2 separate regions of the Homo sapiens genome follow, and region 1 is linked to region 2. Evidence: promoter capture Hi-C in human tissues and cell types (Jung and others, 2019). All regions are on one chromosome and are shown on one strand. The core of a region is centred on a gene start or on the middle of the fragment in contact, and the rest is flanking DNA. Distances in the headings are between cores, read along the strand shown. Region 1 overlaps RBMS3 (RNA binding motif single stranded interacting protein 3). Region 2 holds the start of RBMS3 (RNA binding motif single stranded interacting protein 3).

Evidence for each region. The method cuts DNA at HindIII sites, captures the fragments that hold promoters and counts their contacts. A contact is called where the count stands out against the background at its distance.
Region 1: a fragment that was not itself captured here is called in contact with the fragment with the promoter of RBMS3 in region 2 in 1 of the 25 tissues and cell types used here (mesenchymal stem cells).

What each region holds. Positions count from the first base shown.
Region 1 is chr3:29,603,471-29,609,213 of GRCh38, reverse strand. The region is part of intron 4 of RBMS3 (RNA binding motif single stranded interacting protein 3); the gene reads right to left. Among named protein-coding and RNA genes, the nearest start is that of RBMS3-AS2, 36 kb to the left of the region's middle. The HindIII fragment of the contact is 6,866 bases long and covers 1-5,732 here.
Region 2 is chr3:29,277,464-29,283,184 of GRCh38, reverse strand. It overlaps RBMS3 (RNA binding motif single stranded interacting protein 3), which reads right to left and starts at 2,114. Exons shown (of 15, transcript NM_001003793.3): 1 at 1,429-2,114. The coding sequence starts at 1,503. RBMS3-AS3 (RBMS3 antisense RNA 3) reads left to right here and starts at 2,246. Exons shown (of 3, transcript NR_109804.1): 1 at 2,246-2,454. RefSeq lists an enhancer at 3,210-3,259. The HindIII fragment of the contact is 9,133 bases long and covers 1-5,058 here.

The sequences.
Region 1 (5,743 bases), core at 1,050-3,549, 330 kb before region 2:
TCTCAGAAGAAACAGGGACAGAAATGCAGAGTAAGCATTTAGAAACTTTTATATTCATTTGATAGATGAGTTTTATGTCTATATCTTTGTTTTCCTTTATTTTATTTTTCTGGTAATTTATTTTTATTATATTTTATAAAAGCATCAGTCCACAACAGTTTGGAAATAAAAATAACTAGTTCTACAACATTCAGATAGTGAGAAGTAAGCACTCCACTCATCCAACATTCTGCAGTGAATGCTGCCCATAAAGAATATGAATGAAATTTATAAGGAATACATAAACCACACTTTCTATTAACATAAGAGAAGACTTCTGCCTCCCCCTACTATTCTCCCTAATGCAAACAAGGAGCACAGAAGAGAGACGTATTTACACACAAAAATATGCCATTAAGCACATTCAGTTTCTGCATTCACTCAGGGACTATTTGGATCTCTTGCCCTCTCAGCTATTCTAGTTAAAGGGTAAATTAAGCTATACTTTCCCTAAGCAGTTTTGGTGAATGTATCTAGCTCCTCATTTTTACCTTGACTATATTCTTCTCTCATCTCAGCTCGTTCATGCAGTTTAATACATGCATGCAGCATGTGTTAAACTATGTATAAAACTTAGATGAGTAATTCATGTAAATTAAGAAGTATATTCTGTCATCTTTGGTCATCTAAATAATAGACTATCAGCCAAAATCAACCCCAAGGGATTAGCTTGGAACATTTTCTGTGTAATTGTATAATCTTGACTTTAAGCAGCATATAACTAATCCTTATATCACAATGAAACTAAGAATGTAAGAAGAAATGTGTTATGCCTTATCTTTAATATTCTACTAGCTTTATTACACTAAGTTTTAAGTCATTTTTCTAGCTAATTCTCAATTATTTAATTGGAAAGATTTGTTTGATTTTAACTCAGAATATTCCGTCTTATTACGATACTTCCACAAAAGTTAATGCTGCTTTAAAAAAATACCTCAATCTGGATGATGAATACATACCAATTCTTGGCTGGTAGAGGCAAATGGTAAAATATATATAGGTGAAATAATATGATGTCTGGGATATAGACAGACATATTATTTTATCTATAAATATTATAAAATAATATAATGTATTCTTGAAGAGTGAGAAAGTGGTAAAATAGTTGGATGAAATAAGATTCATAGTAGAATAAATGTTGAAGCTGGATGATGGGCATGTTGAGATTTCTCGTACCATGTAAATTACACTATTTTCTCTGCTTTTGTGTATGTTTCATAAATTCTATAGTAAAGGCAAAATATACACAAAATATGCATATACCTATCTTTTTCCACAAAGCTTATTTTTTTCTTAAGACTAGCAGCAAAGAATTAATATTGTAAAGGAATATACAAAATTTATGATCAAGATAGTGAAAACAATTAATTAATTGGTTAGATTTTGTTGTAATATGTTCTGATTGGGAACTTTAAACAGAGAATAATATGAAACTTACAACAGAGCAAGACATGAATTTTCTCCATGTAAAGTAAAAATGTAAAATGTTTAAATTTTCTTTCTAGTAAAGGTATTTGGGAAAAAAAATCAAATTCAGAGATTTAAAAACAGGCAATCCTTTTGCCAATTGTACAGCTGCTATGGTCTGAATGTTGCATCCCCCCAAAATGCTTATTTTGAAATAGTAACTCCAAAAATGATGATATTGGGTGGTGGGGCCTTTTGGGAATCATTAGATCATAAAGGCAGAACCCTCATATATGGGAATAATATCCTTATAAAATAGGCACAGAACTTGTTTGCCCCTTCCACAGTGTGAGGACACAGCTGGAAGGCTCCATTTGAGACAGGAACCAGGCCCTCAACAGACACTGAATCTGTCAGCACCTTGATCTTGGACTTCCCAGCCTCCAAAACTCTGAGAAATAAATTTCTGTTGTTTATAAGCTACCTAGTCTATGGCATTTTACTATAACAGCCCAATGGGACTAAGGCAACAAAAAATAGAATGGAACTTTAAATAAAATATTTAATAGCTTATTATTGAAATCTCAATAATCATAAATATCTAAAATGTGTAATAACTTGACATGATAACCAAATATTTAAAATGTACCCAATACAGCAATTCTGAAACCCACACAGAATGTTTGCCATTTTCCAGCATACTCCATACACTGACTTTAATAGAATATTTAGGTTTAGTGAAACTGTGAAGCAAACAGTACTTTTTTCTCTGTCAGATTATTTTATTTATTAATTTATCTGGCATAGTTTGCCTGTTGTTTGTATTGCATATTATAGAATGCTTTACATGAGAAAAATTTCACTCTAAATTAATACAATGGAAAAATTTTCAATTCAAAGAAAAAAATAGCACATTGATGGATAGAATTTTTTCTATGTTTTATCTCATGTATTTTCTGAAACATTGGCATGGGCAACATTTGTCTGCAAGTGAGCACTAGAAGATAAAAGAATGAATAAACAAATAGTAAAGGAACAATACAGAAAAACTCAGAAACAGCTGTGAATGTTTAATCTGGTTGCTGTTTTTTTTCCCATGTCCACTTATGTCTGGTTGTGATTTTATATTGCATATATAAAATACAGTCATATGTTCTGCTCATGAAATTGACCCTACTTATTATAAGAAATTAGACATGACAGCTTCTCATGGATGCTTTATACAAAGAGAGTCTGAGAAGTCTGAGGAAGATTCTAATGACATGAGCAAAATGTGTCCAACTCCAGCTCTGATTCCAAATTCTATTTGTTATTGAAATCCTCTGGGATCCAGTAAATTTTATGTTGATGTTCAAAATAAGTCAAACACACTTGAAATGTTTGTCAGTAAAATCTTTTGGTATACAAGTGACCATGTCAGAATGTCTAGCATCCTGTAAGCCAAGTAGTGATCCATAAATATTTGCATAAACCTTGATGGGAATCAGGTTCCAAATAATAGGGTCTTTAAACATCAATCATATGACAATGCGAAGGGATTGTTATTACACCACTGAGTGTGTGGTGAATAAAATCTAGGAGTGAGAAAAGACAGCCATCCCCTATTTAATTTATCATTAAGCAACCTAAAGACTTAAGGAATAGACAATCTGCAACCTCACAGTACTGGAGTATGATTCAGCAAAACTCCTACTTACTAAGAAAGGTCAAACTGTAAACTGTGAGTTTCACCAAAGCTAGGATGGTATAACTCATAAGATATATATACACTTCCAAGGAGTTAGAAAAAAAAAAAAAAACTACCTTGTTTCATGTCTTAACAAAGCCAGAAAGAGGGGAAAATGCAAGAAAACCACATACTAAGGTCAAACTGCTATATCTGACCAGGTTCTAAATAGTTGTGACGATCTTCTTGGAAGTGCAATGAACATGTTAGCAACATTAGTACAAAAGGACACAAATCATCAGTACTAGCATTCTTGACATGGTATACTAAATCCACCCACTAAAGTCAACTTAGGGAGAATATTAAAAAAGGGTCCCAAAGCTGTACTGTTCCCCGCCTTGTAGAATCTGAACTGCCAAAGTCAAGCATAACTGAAATTCATTTTTATCCTCACAAGTTCATCAACTTATGAAATAATATTACATTATCTTCCATTTCTACTTTTTCTATATTCTTTTGGATAACCCTTGCTATCTGCATTCACTCTCAACCTCATTTCTTTTTCTACCAGGATCTACCATGAAGTACAGAAAGTATGTAGGTGGTTCCCTAATCTACACAATAATCTGGGATCATCGATATTAAGAGCAACATAGAAAGCGTATAAATTTACTTCATTTAAAATTCTGGAAAACTCAAAGGAATTTCCATAGTATTATTCAATATGATTCTATATATTGAAATGTACAACATTTCATGAGGAATTGCCTTTGTTAACAGCGTATACAACCTTCTGCTGGTGCATTGACCTTTTTACTAGCCAGTCAATGCCTATAATACCTAAACAATCGTAAAATGTTTCATTTTTTCTTCAGTTTAAGAATTTTTAGTCTGCACAGTGGCTTCCTTTAATCCATAACTTGTTTTCAGATTGTATTTCAAAGGAGGAAAAGCAAAGGAGGATAAACAATTTACAAAAATATAAGGAGAATATAAATATTATGCTTGAAATATACAAAGAAGGAATGGAACCATAATATTCAATGCAAGTTACAAAACAAGCTATGAGAAAGTTGTAGTGTATGAATAAAGAAAAGAAAGTCATTATAAGATTTATTTTTGCTTTATTTTGGAGGAGGATGTCAACATATCCAATATGCCAAAAGATATCTCAAAGCACCTAAGGTTTAATTGCTATCATGCTCTAACCCCATTAAAAAGATATGCTGGTAGACAAATGCCAACCAAATTTCCACTCTTCTAGTAGTCTATCCCTGGAGGAAAACTAATGATCACTAACTGCTAAGATCTACTGAGTGATAGATATTAAAAACTAAAGGAACAGAGCTGTTTCCTGAAAGAAAAATTGAACATCCATTGCAAATTATCCAGAAGCATAATCATATATGGTTTCCAACTCTAATTGAAGGAATTTTTAGTGATCAAAAATTTAATATCTGAGCTCATTTGCAGGTACTGTAGCATGATATCTATTTTAGTCAGTTGGATTCTTCTTTCCCACGACATTTAGTTGCCTAGCCTCTGAAGGAGAATTAACTTGCTTTGAGACATTCAATAAAAATCCGAGAGCCCACCATGTGCAGAACTCTATAGGAAGGATGATGAGGCACCAGGCCTGGATTCTGCCTCCAAAAGGAATAGCATCCAAGGACTAAACTTAAAAAATAGAAGTGTCACAAAGGCTTAAGGTTGGACTATGATAGAAGTTTAAAAGAAAGGAGGTACAATAAACTACAAATGTTAGTATGACATGTCATTAAAGATATTAAAAATGGTGTTTCCAATAAGTAATCATATAGTTTCTTGTCACTTATAAGATGAAATATTATACACTCACAATTATATTGCTAGTTACAATATGTAAAAAATAATTATGGAGAGCAAGAAAATTAAGATTGATTTTTTAAAATGCAATGGCAAAACCACAATGATCTGGTTTTATTATTCCAAAATAGCGTTTCTCAACCTTGACATTATTGATATTTTAGACCGAATAATTCTTTATTGTAGCAAAAATGAGACACTATTTAATGCATTGCAGTATGATTAGCAGCATCCTGGCTTCTACCCACCGAACAGATGCCAGTAGCAACTTGTGCCCTAGTTGTGACCACCATAAATGTTTATAGATGTTGCAGTTGAGAACCAGGGCTCTAAAGCAACTTGTGCCCTAATTGTGACCACTACAAATGTTTATAGATATTGTAGTTGAGAACCAGGGCTCTAAAGCAGTGGTTCAGGTGTTAGCTTCAGTATTAACATAGTGGCCAGTTGAATGTACACCTCTAGGTAGCTCTTTACCATGGGTAATAATTACCTACTTACTTATCTGCACTTTCCTATAAACCATAAGTTTCCTCAGGTCTGGAATTGTATCTTACTTGTTATTGGTTTTCTATACACTAAGCAGTCTATGCATATGCTTTATGCTGAATGAATCAATAAAGGAAGCTAGAAAGAAAGGAAACAAAAGAGGGAGGTAGCTGAACTGACCAATGAAGTGTGGAGGGGCTCTGGCATGCATCATATAGTGTCAGTGGATGCCAATATTAATTTTCCTCTCAGTCAAGAGAACCACAAATGTCTCCAAACATTGCCAAATGTCCTCTA
Region 2 (5,721 bases), core at 865-3,364:
TTTGTTTTGTTGAGGCATGAGAAATGACTGTAAATTTTCCCCTTTTAACTTGTCCTTGCTCTGCCATTTCCTTGAGGAATGGCAGGCAGCATTCTCAACCTAACACCCCCAAAGAGTTAAAACTTAAGGCACCGAGCAGGAGGGCTAGTCTATTTAAGCATCAGCAGCACAAACTAAATGCTCACAAAGGCAAATAGCAGTGTGAGTCGACCTTGGAGGGGCAGGGTGGATTACAAAGCAATTGAAAAAGAAAAAAACAAAGCAATAATCTTTTGTATAATACTGAAAGTCTGCTTCCCAGTCTGGTTTACAAATAGGCGTTGCTGGACGAGACAAAATAAATGACAGATAACTACAGCATGAATTACCTAACCCTAATCACATCACCGAGTCCTGGTGACAGCATAGATCATTCAGGCACGCCTTGTTCACTCTCGGCATATTTATTTATTAAGGAGACGGTGGAGTCTGGCTAATGCTAATGCAATACAAAATAATATCACCCGTACACTCGAGGTGGTCACTCCGCTAACATGTTTTCCCCCTAATCAAGTCCAATTTAATTGACAAATCGGAGCAGTGATTTCACACCTGAGAGTCTTTCATGTCTTAACTGCAGGATAAAGTTCAGGGTAGGTACTGCCCACTGCTTACTTACGTGGGCTTGCCTCTGGGCCCCTAATGGTCATTTGACACACACACATAAAGCCTAAAGTATTTAACCAATTCAAGTCCAATTATGATCAGTTACATTTCATTCCTTTTCAAGACTCAGGCCTCCTCATGGCAGCTACACAGAAAAATAGATCTTCTAAAAGTAAAGAACATCTATTGTAAAGCAGTCTGTAGCATGCTGATCATCCTCAACATAAAATAAAATAGGCAAGGCAAATTAAAAATAAAAATAAACTCTCAGAGACTCTGGTAGGAGCCCTATACCTTCTCACACCCTTCTTTCATTCTATACCCTGCGATTAAAAGTTTGAGTTACCCCCACCGTTGCACGTCCTATCCAGTGGGAAAAACCCTTTTAGAGCCACAATCAAAGAACAGCTCACCAGAAAAGCCCCTGAAATTATATTCTTGTGCCTGGTAATCACTGTTGTGATCTGCTTTCTAAAAACCGTGCCCATCTGCAAAAGACGTTCCTGATATCAGGACCATTTATGCTGCCAAATAACAACAAAGAAACTGAACTCAAGTGAAACTATTATCTCTCCTTAAAGAGAAAGCTACAATTCCGGGTTTGCTGCTTTCTTCTTATGTCTTCCTCTGCCTCATTAACTCCATTGGTATGTCACTAATTTCAAAGAAGCAGGAAGAAGTGATGGGGGTGGGGGTTAACTAATAATTCACACGCCTGTCTGTTTCCCATCCCAAGTGCAGAACGATACCACGCTGATCGCCAGACCGTGGGTCAAGCCATACCTTGGTTTGGAGATAATGAGGATAGTAGTAAGTGTACTGGGGGTACATTTGTGGCTGATCCAGGCGTTTGCCCATGTAGCTGGAATCTTTATCTCCGAGGCAGGGAACTGGATGACAGGGTATAGTGCCCCAGGCCGAGCTTCCTCTTAAACCACTATTCCTGACAGTCCCGGTGACTGATGAGGCTTCAGAGACTCCACCACTCGCTAGTTCCAACACAGCAAGAATTTTTTTAAAAAACAAAACAAAACAAAAAACACACACCAAAGGAAAAAAAAAAAGGGCGAGGAGTGAGATCTGTAGAAAAAACACCCACACACAGCCTTCCCAGATCTTGCCTGGCTTCCCCCAGCTGCCGGGGTCCACTTGGGATGAGGCAGTTTGTTCTCTAACCAGGCTGTCTGTAGTGATGTCAATTGCCAGCGTTCGTAAAGGGGGAAAAAAATCAAAGTCCTTTTAGCACAACTCCGAATCCTTGCAGATCAGCTTCCTGTCTCTTGGTTGTCTCTTTCCCCACCTTAAAGAAAAAGAAAAAAGAGAGAGAGAAAGAGAAAGAAAGAAAGAAAAAGAAAGAAAGAAAGAAAAAGAAAGGGGAAAAAGAAAAAAAAAAAGAAAAAAAGGAAGAAAAAAAAAAAAAAAAAACCTTGTACAGCTTAGTTGCTGCTGTCTCCCTCCCAGAGTGACATGGTGTTCGGGGCTTGTCCTGTCCTTTCATTCACTTCCCCTCCTTCCAGCCGGTGGGTGGAACCGAGAGAGCCTCTCCAGGGAGCAGCGTACGCAGTCCAGAAGGCTGCAGTATTTCCTCCAAGAAAAAAAAAAAAAAAGGCTGCTTCAACCCCTGCTGCAAGCAAAGTTCCGATTCCCTCTGCTGGCTATCTCGAATAGCAAGCGATTTTTGCAGCAACGCTGCTGCCGCTGGAACTGAACCTGAAGAACTCAAATGCGGGCGGTGGATTATTTCTTATCCCTCCTCCATCTACCCCACACAAGAGCTGCTTTTTGTTCCTCTTTTTGCCAAGTTCCAAGGTAAGCCACACTGCTAAACAAAACACAGAAGAGAGGGAAGAGAGGACGAAAGAAGGAAGGAGGAGAAAGGAAAAGAAATAAAGGCAGGGGAACTAACCTTGCTGGTTAAAGGGGAAAAAAGTAAGTCCCGGATGCTTTCAAAATCTGTTAACACGCTAGAGCCAGACGCATCCAAGAGCTGATTGAGAAACTAACCTTTTACTACCTGGAAAACTTGGTGGATGTTAAGTATTGAAGAAATTTTAGGGTCTACTCCAGGACTACTATTAATGCCACATGTCATCAGATTGGACTGATCAACTGAACATATCAAAAATAATAACTTTTTTAAAATACATCCATTTTGTAAAAAAAAAAAAAAAAAAAATCAAAGGAAGTGACCCCTTAGGTTCGTCAGATATTTTACAGATAAAATCTGTTTCTCCCATTGTCTCTCTCTTTATGATTATTTTGTTGCATTGATGCTTTAATCACTTTACTGATATCATCTAAAAAAAAAAGAACAAAAATCATAATTGCTTGGCAGAGTTTTTTCCCACCAATGATAATATTCTGTCATGTCTATCAGCTGCTACATTATAATACAAATTGTTTCAGATAAAATATATTTCCTTAAAGGGTCCCTTTTCAAGGCGGGCGAGGCTAAAATTAGATGTGCCAGCTGTGTTTTGCTGCGAGTGCTCACGCATGCCCAAAGCGTGGGCAGACCAATACTGAGCTCTTTTCTACTTTGTCAAGTCGGCTCTGTTCTCCTGAGCCCAGAGTCTCCTATTTAGATAAAAGGTCCCTGGTACAAATCCAGCTTCCTAGTCAAGAAGAACAGAGAATTTGGGCTCAGTGCACACATGGTGTCCATCCACATACAAGCCGCACCACCCCTAAAGCAACTGGCTTCCACCGAGGGGAACTGGTTTCTGGAAGCTGTGTGAGTGCATACGTGTTCCTTGGATAAAAATAAGGATGGCAGGTAAATAGTTTTATGTTTTACTTTTGACAAGAATAACAATCAGAAGGAAGGAAGGATGGAGGGTGAGAGGGTAAGAGTTAGGAGGCCCTGACAACATGGTGATTGAGAATATTAAATCAACCCCACCTATCTCTTAAATGTATTATTTGGGGCCTCAGTTGTCCCATCTATAAAATAGAAATACTGCCAACTCTCCTGGCTGAAGGCAGTACACTGAATCAGACACTAAAAATGACACTGATTTAAAAATCCTCCAGTGGTGTCACGTTTCTCAAACAATAAAGTCCTGACTCTTTGGAATAGGTTTCAGGACACTTGACGAGCTGTCTGGCCCTGGCTTTCTACTCTAGTCTCGGACTTTCAACTCTGCCCCTCACATCCTATACCGGAGTCACTCTGAGCTACTTTCAGGACAGGAACATGCTCTCAGAGGCTTCTGTCATTCCCTCTTCCTGGAGTGCTCTCCCAAGTCCATCTCCACCTCTTTTACCCTTCAGCCTGTCCTTCAGGTCTCAGTATGGATATCACCTCCTCACAGTAGCTTTCTCTAAACCCTTCCTTCTCTGCTGCACTTTATATTTGCCCTCATAGAAGGCTTATTCTACATGTATTTGCCTGCTTATTGTTTGTTTCTTCCATGATGTTCTAAACTCTAGGGGGGCAGGAGGTCACATTGTTCTCACTTGCCTTTATATTTCCAAAAACTTGCATAGAGTTGAGCACAAAATGGGTGTTCAGTAAATGTCTGAAGAATAAAATGTTAGACATAATTAATAATTTTTCAACCTGACTTACATCCCTCTTTCAGTACATTTCAGTCCCTGTTACAGGTCAAGAATTGACCTGGGTGCAGGATATAGAGGCACATGAATCAGAACAAGGTCCTTCTTTCATCGAGTTTATATTTAGTGGGGAAGGGGGGACAAACAAAGGGATAAAGAAGTAAATATGCAGTATAATGTCAGGAAATACAAAGCGCTGTAAGGAAATATGAAACAGAGTAAAGAGAAACAAAGTCACAGAGATTCTACTTTAAACAAGATAGGAAAATGCTCTCCAAGGAAGAGCCTTGGAAAATGCTTTCCTAAGGTCAAAGCAAGGGTGTGAACCATTCTCTGGGTATTGTGCACTGTGAGAATACTTCGTGTTAATGCCTTGGATCCCATCCAGACTGCCTGGGTTCCAATCCTGCCCCTTCTTCATTCATCTCCCTCAGTTTCTTCATCCATCAAATATCACTATTCACTTCATACAGTTATTTAGAAAACCAACCCAGATAAACACATGAAGCTTTTAAAACACCTTGTACCATGTTGGATCTGCTTAACAAATGCCAGCCTGCACATGGGGGAAAAACATCCCAGTCACAGGGAACAGTAAGTACAGAACGGCCTGCAGTGGGACTGTGTCTTTGGAATGTGCAAGATCCGGCACAGAGGCTGAAATGAAGCAAGTGAGGAAAGACCATAAAATGGGGTTAGGGAGGTACCCTTGGGCCAGATCATATAAACCTTAGTAAAGAACTGATATGGAAAGCTAATTAATTGATAGTTAACAGTACAGCAAGGACTTTATCCAAATATTCAGATTCTACATCTAGTCATCTTCAACTATAGAATGCTGTCATTTAAACAACCTATTAATGCTCCTCCAAGTTCTATCTTGTAAGAACAAAATCCAAGATTGCTTTGGCTAATTCTGCCACCATGGACAAAGGATATAAATACTCTTTCATTAATACATGGTCTAGATACTCCTTAAAGGGAAAAGAATACTGTCTTATTTACAAATGAAAGGCCAAATGACTCCTCAGCCAAAACTGATATAACCCATTATCTGTAAAGTTCCCAGCATGTGTTGATGCTATCAGCAATTTCTACATAAAATTGTTACTTTTTAAAATGCTATTTGATTTCGTTGGATTATTGTAATGTTTTAGGCATAAATTGTCATTAGCTTAAAAACCCTCATTGCACCTTCAAAGCTTTTCTTAAGTAATGCAAAGTAGGTTTACCACCTGTGGGAATTGTAAAACCTGTGTTTTTGTTTTTTATTTTCTTCCCTCAGAGACACCAGTAGCCATGGCAATTCAGGAGGCAAGATACTCACATCAGAAATAGTTTTTATATCATTTCTGCTCTGTTGGAGCAGTAGCGCTTTCCATTTAAATGATCAAGTTAAGGTAGGAGGTAACTGGTTTAAGGCACTCTCTAAATCAGAAGACAGCTGTGTCCTATTTGCCAACTAACCAACAAATTTCATACAAATCCAAGAACAGCAAACTGCATCAAAGGGCATAG